Regions from separate parts of the Homo sapiens genome. Here regions 2 and 3 are each linked to region 1. Evidence: promoter capture Hi-C in human tissues and cell types (Jung and others, 2019). All regions are on one chromosome and are shown on one strand. The core of a region is centred on a gene start or on the middle of the fragment in contact, and the rest is flanking DNA. Distances in the headings are between cores, read along the strand shown.

The links. The method cuts DNA at HindIII sites, captures the fragments that hold promoters and counts their contacts. A contact is called where the count stands out against the background at its distance.
Region 2: a contact is called between the fragment with the promoter of MYBPHL here and a fragment that was not itself captured in region 1, in 3 of the 25 tissues and cell types used here (H1 embryonic stem cells, IMR-90 fibroblasts and dorsolateral prefrontal cortex).
Region 3: a contact is called between the fragment with the promoter of GNAT2 here and a fragment that was not itself captured in region 1, in 5 of the 25 tissues and cell types used here (IMR-90 fibroblasts, adrenal gland, bladder and 2 more).

What each region holds. Positions count from the first base shown.
Region 1 is chr1:109,488,368-109,491,679 of GRCh38, reverse strand. It overlaps ATXN7L2 (ataxin 7 like 2), which reads right to left. Exons shown (of 11, transcript NM_001350175.2): 6 at 3,215-3,297; 7 at 2,580-2,833; 8 at 1,552-1,750; 9 at 1,288-1,409; 10 at 1-758. Among named protein-coding and RNA genes, the nearest start is that of CYB561D1, 4.1 kb to the left of the region's middle. RefSeq lists a silencer at 774-823. The HindIII fragment of the contact is 6,277 bases long and covers 1-3,312 here.
Region 2 is chr1:109,305,515-109,308,826 of GRCh38, reverse strand. It overlaps MYBPHL (myosin binding protein H like), which reads left to right and starts at 1,816. Exons shown (of 9, transcript NM_001010985.3): 1 at 1,816-1,980. The coding sequence starts at 1,836. RefSeq lists enhancers at 820-1,558, 1,559-2,298. The HindIII fragment of the contact is 18,863 bases long and covers 1-3,312 here.
Region 3 is chr1:109,618,141-109,621,452 of GRCh38, reverse strand. GNAT2 (G protein subunit alpha transducin 2) reads left to right here and starts at 1,837. Exons shown (of 9, transcript NM_001377295.2): 1 at 1,837-1,970. AMPD2 (adenosine monophosphate deaminase 2) reads right to left here and starts at 1,616. Exons shown (of 19, transcript NM_001368809.2): 1 at 1,175-1,616; 2 at 187-539. The coding sequence starts at 277. RefSeq lists enhancers at 331-859, 819-868, 1,390-1,918, 1,889-1,938, 1,919-2,449 and 1 more and a silencer at 1,509-1,698. The HindIII fragment of the contact is 31,069 bases long and covers 1-3,312 here.

The sequences.
Region 1 (3,312 bases), core at 480-2,979:
GGCCTGGCTTCTTGCGGCGCACAGAGCAGGCCACATCAGCAGGGGCACCAGCCTGACAGTGCTTGGCCTTCACTGGCCGGCAATAAGTGGCCAGGTTTTTCCGCTTCTTGGCCACCTCCTCCTCAGAGAGGCAGTTGGTTGGCAGGGCCTTGGCTGGGTGTCCAGCTGCTCCCCGGTTCTCCAGCTGAGAAGCCTTGACTGGTGTGGGGAGCTGATGAGGGGAGCCACGACAGTCCAGGGGCCCTGCCCGCTTCACTCTTGGCCCCATTGTCCCATTAAGCCCCATGCTCAGGGCTGTTTTAGTTTTGGCCGAGAGGCCCCTACAGCCAGAGGGTTTCCCTTTTCCAGTGGGCTCCAGGATGCAGGTCCGTTTAAGAGTGGTAGGGCCAGGGGATAACTTCCGCTTTCGAGAAGGGGCCTCCACCTCCACCCCGTCCTTGCCTTTGGATGACTTGCTGGCCTTGGAAGGCGGCAGCTTGCTGAAGGACGGGGATGGCGTGTTGGCAGGCAGTGGTGAGGTGATAGCCTGGCTCCCGCCCATGCACTCTGCCTGGCTACAGGCAGCCGCCACGCTGGGGGAGCCTGCAGGGTAGCTGGGGACAAGGTTGTCCTTGGTGGGGGGCATGGAGGCTGGGCAGGCAGGTCTCAGGGTTGGACCTGGAAGGCGGGGGCAGGTGCCTGTAGAGGATGGGCTCAGGGGAGCAGATAACGGGGAGTTGACAAGGTGAGCTGGAGGTTCAGCTGCCGGTGGGATCTTCCTGCAGCAAAAAGAAAGCCCCACTGTGACTGCCAAGAAACAAGACAGCTTCCCCCAACACAAGACACACTCCAGTCTCTCTGCCCCACCTAGAAATGGTCAGCAGAGCCCCAGAGTTGCTGCCATCTGCTGGGAGATGCTGGAACTGAGGGTTAGGAAGAAGACACAGGGGTGCCTGTGGAGAGGAATTAGCTAGTACCTACTAACTAGGAGGCAGCCCACTAGGAACTTCATTTTAAATCTTGGTTTGGGCATCCCCTATCCCTAGTTACCCAAAAGGTACTGGAAGTGATGGATGAAAGTCTAGATTCACCCCCAGACCACCCTTCCATGCCCTGCCTTAGCCAAACTCTAGGCTGCCAAGTTTTCCCACCTCCTTTTCATGCTACTCCCTATCTGGGGTCCTGCTGGCAAATAGCCAAGGCACACCTATGGGTATACAGGAAAGATCAGGGCTTCTGAAGCCCAAGTATGTCTGGAACCTAGGAATTTCCATTCTAGAACTTCCATTCTGGGTCCGAGAGACTTACTTCCACATGTGTGTGCTGAGGTGCCGTTCCAGCATGGAGCTGAGTGCTGAGCAGAACCGGTCCAGCCGGCGGCTAAACACATAGCATCCTGGGCTCACCAGCCGGCTCCCAAAGGTGCAGAACTAAAGGCAGAAGGAAGGTGCATGGTTGGCAGGGTCTGGGGTGCACAGACAGCATCTGCACACAGGATCTGGCCTCCTCCCCATGTTGTTGGCCAGGAGTGCTGGGCCACCCCCTCCATAGGCCCCTATTCCAGGTCCTTACCGCCTGTGGCCGTGGGGGCCGGGTTGCATAATGGCAGTCAGGGGGTGGGTGGAGGTCGTCAGATGTCCCCTCCTCCTCACTCTCTTCGCTGGAGGCCTGGGTCCCACCCCGGGGCATGGGGAAGGGGAACAGGCCTGGGTCCCCATCACCACCACAGGGGCCTTCATCATCCAATTCACTCTCGGAGGAGGCCCGGGACCTGGAAGGGCCAAAAGGGATGCCAGGGGAATGTGACTGTTGTGGGGTCAGAGTAGGGGCATCCTTGAACCTGCCGAGCTCAAAGAGCAGGGCACCAGGGCAGACACCCTGCAGGGCAATCAGAAGAGGACAGAGGGAAGGGAAGGACAGGAGGGAACGACACAGCTCACAGAGTAAGAGACAGAGAGACTGCTCCCAAGGGATTCTCTCCCCAGCCCCTTCACCTCCCAGCCCCTTCCTCCTCAGGGGATAATCTGCTGCAGATCCGCCTCCTCCAGAAAATCTTCACAGTTAAAACTGTACCCAGCTCTGGTCAGCCCAGTCAACTCGCTCAACCCCCTTCTTGCATCACATATTCCTGTGAGCCTGTCTGTGAGCTGAGCCTGTGTTTCGTGTCTGCCCCTTGTGTGACAGGCAGAGATGCATGTGTGTCTCCTTCAGCAAGTCAGGCTCTCCCTGGGGTCCGGCATAGCCTCTGCACGCGAAGGGGCCAGTGAGTGAATACACATAGGGCTGCCTTGCCCAGGAGTGTGACCCTTTCAGCTCCCCAGTGACAAGTTTCGGTCTGTTGGAGGCAGCTGGGAAAATGTTCATATCCTGAGTGTTGGATCTGGCACACTGCCGAGAGGCTGGGGTGCTGTGGTATGCCTGGTTGGAAACAGGGGAGTCTCCTGCTTCCACACCACTGTCAGGAGCCCCAGGAATACCCCCACACTCAGGGCTGAGGGAGTGCCTCTTCCAGGACACTCCCTGAGCCTGTTTCCAGGGGCCCCTGATGGCTTAGGGGCCAAGTACCCCCAGGTGAGGTAGGGGTTGGATTCTAGACGTACCTGGGCAGTGCACAGTATGGGTAGGTCTGCTTGGCACGAACAGAGAAGGTGCTGCTGGGAGCAGCCACCGCTGCTACAACCTGGACTGAGGAGGGGAGCTCCTGGGAGGGGCGCTCGAGAACTTGCTCCTTGCGCCCTGGGCTCTTCTCCTTGGGAGACTCCCCTTTGCGGGAGTTGGCCTTCAGCTCTGCCACCAGCACGTCAAAGTCCTTGGCCCGGCCCTGGACTTCCCGGCGCTGGTGTACTGAGTGGATCTAGAATACAGCAGAGTGGAGAGCTGGGGAGTAGGTATGAACTGAGAAGGGGTGAGGGACGGCAGGGTGCTTTGGCCCGGGCAAGTTGGGGGGCAGGGAGAGAGGTGGGCATATTTGCAGCTGTGTTCATGTGTCTTTGTTTCATTCCCCCATGGGGCCAAAACCCTCCTTTGGGATGGGGGAATCTGGAAACTCCCTCCTTCCCACTGTTCCCACCTTCTGCCCAGGAGGGGCATACCCATCTCCCCTTCCCTTGGGTGGGCCTAACTGCCCTCCCTTAAGCTGGACCTTCAGTAACATCGACATTCCTCTCTTTGCCCAGGGAAGGAGTGGGCAAGCCCTGTGCTGTCCTCCCTCACCGTGCAGTGGGAAGGGGGTTACCTTGCAGGTCAACAGGCGGGTACAGATCTTTTTGGTCTCTGGATTTATTACCCCACACTGCCTGTTGAGGTCGCACTCCTTCCCTGTGGGGAAAGCAC
Region 2 (3,312 bases), core at 567-3,066, 180 kb after region 1:
TCCAAGATTTCCTGCGCCAGAGTCACTAGGTTGGTTTTTTTAGGTGCAGATTTCTGGATAGCACCCCAGACCTATTGAATTAGACTTTCTGATGGGCAAACCTTAGGAACCTGCATCTTAAAGTTGATTCTTTACACCTTCGCTCCAACAAAGGGCTAAGACTCAGCCTGGGCCAATTTCCTCACCAAAAGATGGGTTACGTGTTGTGTAAAAGGGGGTGTATTTGGGGTCTCCTGGCTAGGAGACTGTCCACACTTACGGGGCCTTGGCTGGGTCAAGCAGGAAAAATAGTTCAGAAAGACCTTCAAGCTAGTTCTGATATGGCAAAAACCCAGTCTTCTGCCAACCAAATCAACCCCATAGGCCATCCAAGGCCCCAATAAACAGATTGTCCTGGGCCTTAGCTCCTATACCAGTTACAAAGAGGCTGAGCTTCTGTCACCCCAAGATAACACAGGCTCCTGGGATCTTACCAATTACCCCAAAATTGAAGGCAAAAATGAGTAAGAAGTCAGTCCATTTGTTCAACTGCACCCATTTTTTTTCCATGAAAAAAATACAGGGGTGAGTAGGGGGCTGTGGGAACCCTATACTTTCCACTCAGCTTTGCCGTGACTCTCAAACTGCTCTAAAATTAAAGCATTTTAAAATGCAGAGGGATGCTGGCTTCTGGAGATAAGAAGGTAGGAGTATGATAGGTGGCAGTGTCCATGGCATGTACAACACGTATAGAAAGATGGTTTGCTAAGTCTGGAAATCATGTAGGACCTGTAGTATGTGACTAGCACCTGCTGTGAGCTGGCCACTTTCCTATAGATTGTATCATTTTATCCTCAACACAATCATGGCATCATCCCTTGTTTCATAGACTGGGACTTGAGACTCCGAGTCGGCCATTTGCCCAGAGTCCCAGCTGGTGAGTGAGTGGTACAGCCAGAAGTCACACGCAGGTCTCTGAGCTCGCCTCCCTCCACCACTGCTGCCTCTCCCTTTATTTGTACTTCATCTAATAGGCAAGGCAGCCATTGACAGCTCTCAAAGGGGGAAGTGCTGGCCTGACCTAAAAATAGCTTACATTTATCAAGCACTTAGTCGGCTACACTCTGCTAAGCACTTTACAGAGATTACCTCTTTAATCCTCACAACGACCCTATGGTTATAATTATCTCCATTTTACAGATGAGGAAACAGACTGAAGAGAGACTGTGAGGTGTTGTGAGTCACACAGCTAGTTGGTGACAGAGCCCCAAGTGGCACCTGGGCAGCCAGTGCGAGTGCAGTCTCCACCTACCACTGCGCTGTGCCCGCTGCCCCCGGGGAGCGGGGGAGGATGGGACAGGCCCTGTAAAGGTCGAGTTGATAAGACTTTACAATTCATTGAATGTGGGAGCAGAGGGAGAAAGAGCAGTTCAGGCGTTGCTGTGAGTCAGCTAATCCTGGGCCCCTTCTTTGGGACCTGAATGCCCCACGGGATGAACTGGAGGTCAGGAGCAGAGATGTCACTCAACCCTCCCTACAGAAATTAGAGGTCCCTTTTGGATGGTGTGTTCAAGCTCTCCCTCCCTGGTGCTGTGGGGGGTGTCATCTCTCTCCCGAGATAACAGGGACACCTCAGTCCTCCTGGGGCTATTCTGGGCTGCTGTCTGATCCTCCTCTCTCCCCCAACCCCTACTTCAGCCTTTCTGCTGGGCGTAGCTGAGTGGGGAGGGCCAGCCCAGTTACGTAACCCTGTGGCTGGGACCCGGGAGGCCAGCCTGGGAGCAGGTGCTCAGCCCCTCCCTCATCACCAGCAGTGAAAATCTAGAGCTGGAGCTCAGCCTCTGGGAAGGCCCAGCATGGAGGCAGCCACAGCTCCGGAGGTGGCCGCAGGATCCAAGCTGAAGGTGAAAGAAGCCAGCCCAGCGGATGCTGAACCACCCCAGGCTTCACCTGGACAGGGGGCTGGCAGCCCCACTCCCCAGCTCCTGCCCCCTATAGAAGGTGACCCATGGCAGGTGGGGAGGGTGGGGAGGCCGGGTGGTGGGAGTTGGGGAAGACATCGCCACCTTCCTGAACGGCGCCTCAGGTTTTCTGCAGAGCTAAAGACTCTATAGGATTGGTGATTAGGCTGGAGATCATTCGTGAGAGCCCCCATCCCCTGTCCTTGATGGAGTCTAACTTGCTGCTCAAATGTCCCTGCTAAGTTTTTGTGTTTTAGCTGAGAAGTCAGTGATGGTGTTGGTGGCACTTTACAGTGACTAAAAATGATCTGTTTATATTTTTACCTTTTAAAAAATTGTCATAGGGACTGGGAAGACCTGATATACTAATGGCCAGTCAGGAAGGGACTGAGGGGTAAGAGATAGTGACTGTCTGCTGAAGGAACAGGGAAATAAAATGCTATGGCAATGGGGAGGCTAAGAGTGGGGCAGCACAGTGACACTCGGCCTCCTGCTGGGCAGTACCACGGGGTCAGGACCTCCTCCAATCCCCCACTGCTCCCATAGGAGATCCTGACCCCTCAGAGTCTGAGCTCCACGGAAGTGGAGCTCTCCTGGGAGAAGCATTCAATTTCCCCTTCACGATGGTCTCTGTGTGCCTCTCAGCAAAGAGGCGTTCCCAAGTGAGGAATTCCAACCCCGAGCTTCCTGCCGCCCATCCCTGAATGCCCTGGCTGAGGCCTCTGTAGCTAACCACTTCGTGGCGCTCACCTGAAAGTCTTAAGAGGATGAAAAGACCACAATCAAGAAACACGTGGACTCCTAGGGCAGGAAGAGGCAGGGGAAAAGATATACTAGACTTGGAGGCAAAGCTCTAGGCTCAATTCCTAGTGCCGCCTCTAACAGCCCTGTGACCTTGGACAAGTCACTGGACTGCTCAGTTTCCATTTTCACTCTGTAAAATGGTGATTAATAACATCTACCTATCAGGGTAGTTGAAAGGATTGCTGAGATGATCCAGGGTGCCTTGGAAGAGGCCAAACTAAGATGTAAATAAATGATCAAATATTTCCAAGTGAGAGGTGAAGGCTGCGTTCTACCTCCATAGGGTTGTGCAGCAGACTCTGTCTGCCTCTTATCCTCATGGGAGAGGCCAGGTTTCCAGAAACTATTTGAATGTCAAGGGCAGAGAGCTGGCCAAGTTTGTCCCGTTGAAGATGAAGGGAGCAAAAGTTAGTGTAAATATATTAAGCTGGGGTGATGGAGGCAGAAAACCAGTTTCTTCCCTTAAAAGGCCCAGAGAATAAGTGACAGGCAGCAGGAGAATGAGAGCCAGGACTGCTGACGCCTCAGCTCTCTCTACTGGTCTTCCCAAAAGCACAAGGGAGAGTGC
Region 3 (3,312 bases), core at 588-3,087, 130 kb before region 1:
CCCCCCGCCCCCCACCACCCCTCACCCCACCTTCCAAGCCGGCTGTCCCTGGGACTGAGGTTGAGGGGCACCACCACAGAGAGGATGCCGGAGGAGGTGGCCCCCTCTGAGGGGACCAGCACCTTGGGCGAGAGGTGGCAAGACAGAGCCCAGCATCTATCCTGAGGCCAGGAAGCACACACTCACCTGGAGCTGCAGTGGAGGCCTGCAGGCTGGCCCGCTTCTTAAAGGGATATTTGGCCTTGGGCTTGCCAGAGCCAGATGGATAGGATGCCATGGCTGGGACCACGGCGGCGACAGCGGGGGAGTCTGAGCGGCACCGGCTGGGGCCTGGCTCTGCCACATCCAACCCCTTCCTCCGCCCCGCCCCCAGCGGGAGTGACTGATGCAGGAAGCAGCGGCTCCGCAGGCGGAAGAGGCCCTGGCCACGATTTCTCATGTTGTCTAGGCAACCTCGGGGAGTGGGGCCTCCATCTCTGCCCCTTATCCCTCCCCTGCCTCCTCAGTCCCAGGAGTGACGTGACTGATGGTGGCTGGGCCTGGCGGGGGGCGGGGAGGGGGTGGGTAGAAAAGAAGATGGGGAAGGGCCAGCCCCCAGCTCTCCACTAACCCACCAAGAGCCCTCACCCCATCATGCCAGGGCTCCCGGGCAAAGAAGCCAAAGTCCAGGCTAGCTGGTCCTTCCAGCTAGCCTGGAAGAAAAAAGAATAACAAACAGGAATTCAGCAGCGAGCGAGTCCAAGCTCAAACACAGTCCTCCCGGGGCAGGGCAGGCATACTCCGTGAAAACCCAGCACCCACTTTCCTTCCACATCTGACCCTCAGCTCCCGGGGTAGCCCAGCTCTGGGAGGAGGGGGAAGAACCGAGAATCCCAGCCCAGGAGGGAGGGGCCTGTCCCGGGAAAATTCCACCGTCGCCAAATAGCTACCTCCCAGGAAGGCAGGAAGGCCAGGAGACCCCCTTGTCTGGGGGTCTGGGACAGAGACCCTAGCCTCTTTGGATTTTTCCTCTGTCTCTGCACACTCTGGCTCTGCTCCCCAGGCCCTCCTGGGAGGAGCTGACCGCCTTCCCTAGGTCCTGCTGCTGTGCTGTGACTCCCACCCTCTTGTCACTCTGGCCACAGCACTTCTCTGTCCCAGAGACCCTCCCTCCAACACACGTACACACACTCACCTGAGGCCATGATGCCCGAGTTCCGAGGGGAGGCTGCCCACGAGAAGTCTGTACAGCAGAAAGCCCGGGTCCTGAGGGACGGCAGGGGGATCGGGCCACAGACCCCAGCCAAGTCACTCCAAGGGCCCCTGCCCTGGCACTGAGATGGGGAAAGTAAGGCAGTCTTTCAAAATTGCCAGCTGGCCGGAGGTGGACTCCCGCAGACCTCGGCAGCCGGACTGGCCTCAAGGCGACCCCGGTGTCGCGACCACCCAACCCTGCAATCGAGAGGCTGGTAGGCCACGTGCTCCCAAGGGAGCGGGACCCGAAACTCGTCCAGATTTCTCTCAACACTCCCTGGGCATTCAGGGTCGGACTCCCGCGGCCGGACTGTGGGGGAGTCACGCAACAGGTGAGACCCCACCAAAATCTCGCCGGCTCCGCGCCAGGCTCTGCGGCCCTTGGCCCCGCCCCCGCCTGGCCCCGCCTCCGCCTGCCGACCCCGCCTCGCCATTTTTTTCTCTTCCTGGGCGCCACGTGGGCAGCCACCACACCGCGGTAGGGCTGGCCTGAGCCGACCCTGGGTCTTGGGCCAGTTCCGTGCGTCAGCTTCCTCATCAGTAAGATGGGGTAATGACAGTACCTCACTCAAAGGGGTTACTGTGAAGATTAAACGTAAAGTCCCTTTACACAGTGCCTGGCACGAAGTGAGGGCCCAGTGAAAGGTAGCTGTTATCATTGTCCCAGGATTCATTTTAAGCAGAAGTCCTGCCCCTGCAATCTCACTTGGTCGTCTGTTTTCTTCCGGCCGGCGTAGGTAGGAGGCTGTGCCCTGCAATTCTGGCTCCCCTTCCCACATTTCTGTATTTGGTGGTTAAGAGCTTTAACTCTAGCCAGAATGTCTGGGTTCAAATCCAGATTTCACCTACTTCCTGACTGATACTGGGCAAGTTACCTAACTTCTCTGTGCTTCTATTTCGTCTGTAAAATGAGTGTAAGAGTACCTGCTTTATATGGTGGTTAAGATAAATGAGTTAATATAAGTTAACTGCTTAGAACTGTGCCTGGCCTGTAGTTAGTACTCAGTATTCATGTATTACCATTGCTTTAGCCTTGGCCTTGGTTCTCTATTGACACTCACAGGTTGATTCACTTGCAGCCGTTCTGGGGTCTATCCAACAAGCATCCCCACTGCCAAGGGGTAGATAATCCGACCTAAAGGGAACTTGTGGAGGGAAGTCCCTAAGACTTCACTGAATATAATTAAATGCATTAGCAGGAATTAATCTCTTCCCTATTTTCCCTCTTGTGGGAGGCCTTTGCCCCCCACACCCAGTTGTTCTAATGCTGTTTGTCTGGCTCCTCCCAGTTCTTACCACTCCCACAGCAGAGATCCTTCCCAAACTCTGCCTCCCTCTTCTCTCCCCACGCTGGATTCTGGACCCTGAACCCTTTTCTCCACCTGCATCTGGTGCCACTTCCATTGATCCCTGGCTACTGTTCCCTGAACAAACTTAAAAAAAACTTGGCCTCTTCACCTCACACAGAATCCATAAAACTAAAAAGAGAACAGAGATAACCAGGTTTACCTAATCAAAATAGCAAAGACTAAAAAACAAAAAACCAAAAAATAAACGCTAATGCAGGTTGGCAAGGGTATAGTTAGTGAGATGGGAGACACACACACACGTACATGTGCACAAACACATTACTGGTGGCCTTGAACACTGATATAATCTTTCTGAAAGCCATCTGGTAATATAGAATCAAAATTTTCAAAAAGGTTCTTATTATTTGACCCAGTAATCAACTTTCTGGAAGTTGTTTTTCTAAAAAGAGCTGCCAGAAAAATATGTATGCAAAAAGTTGTTCAGCACCACAATGTGTATTGCATAGAAAAGTTAGATACTTTAAAGGTCGAACAATAGGGGAATGTTTATGTAATATTCATACCATGAAATACAGCCATTAAAAATTGTTCTTGGAGAAATGTTTAATGATGTGGAAATGTTTACAATATAAAGTTAGGTAAAAGAATGGATGCAAAACACTATACACAGTATGGTCCTACTTATGTGATATACATGGGTAGAAAAGAAACACACCAACAAGTTTACCAATGATTATCTGTAGTGATGGAATTATGGGTTATATTTATT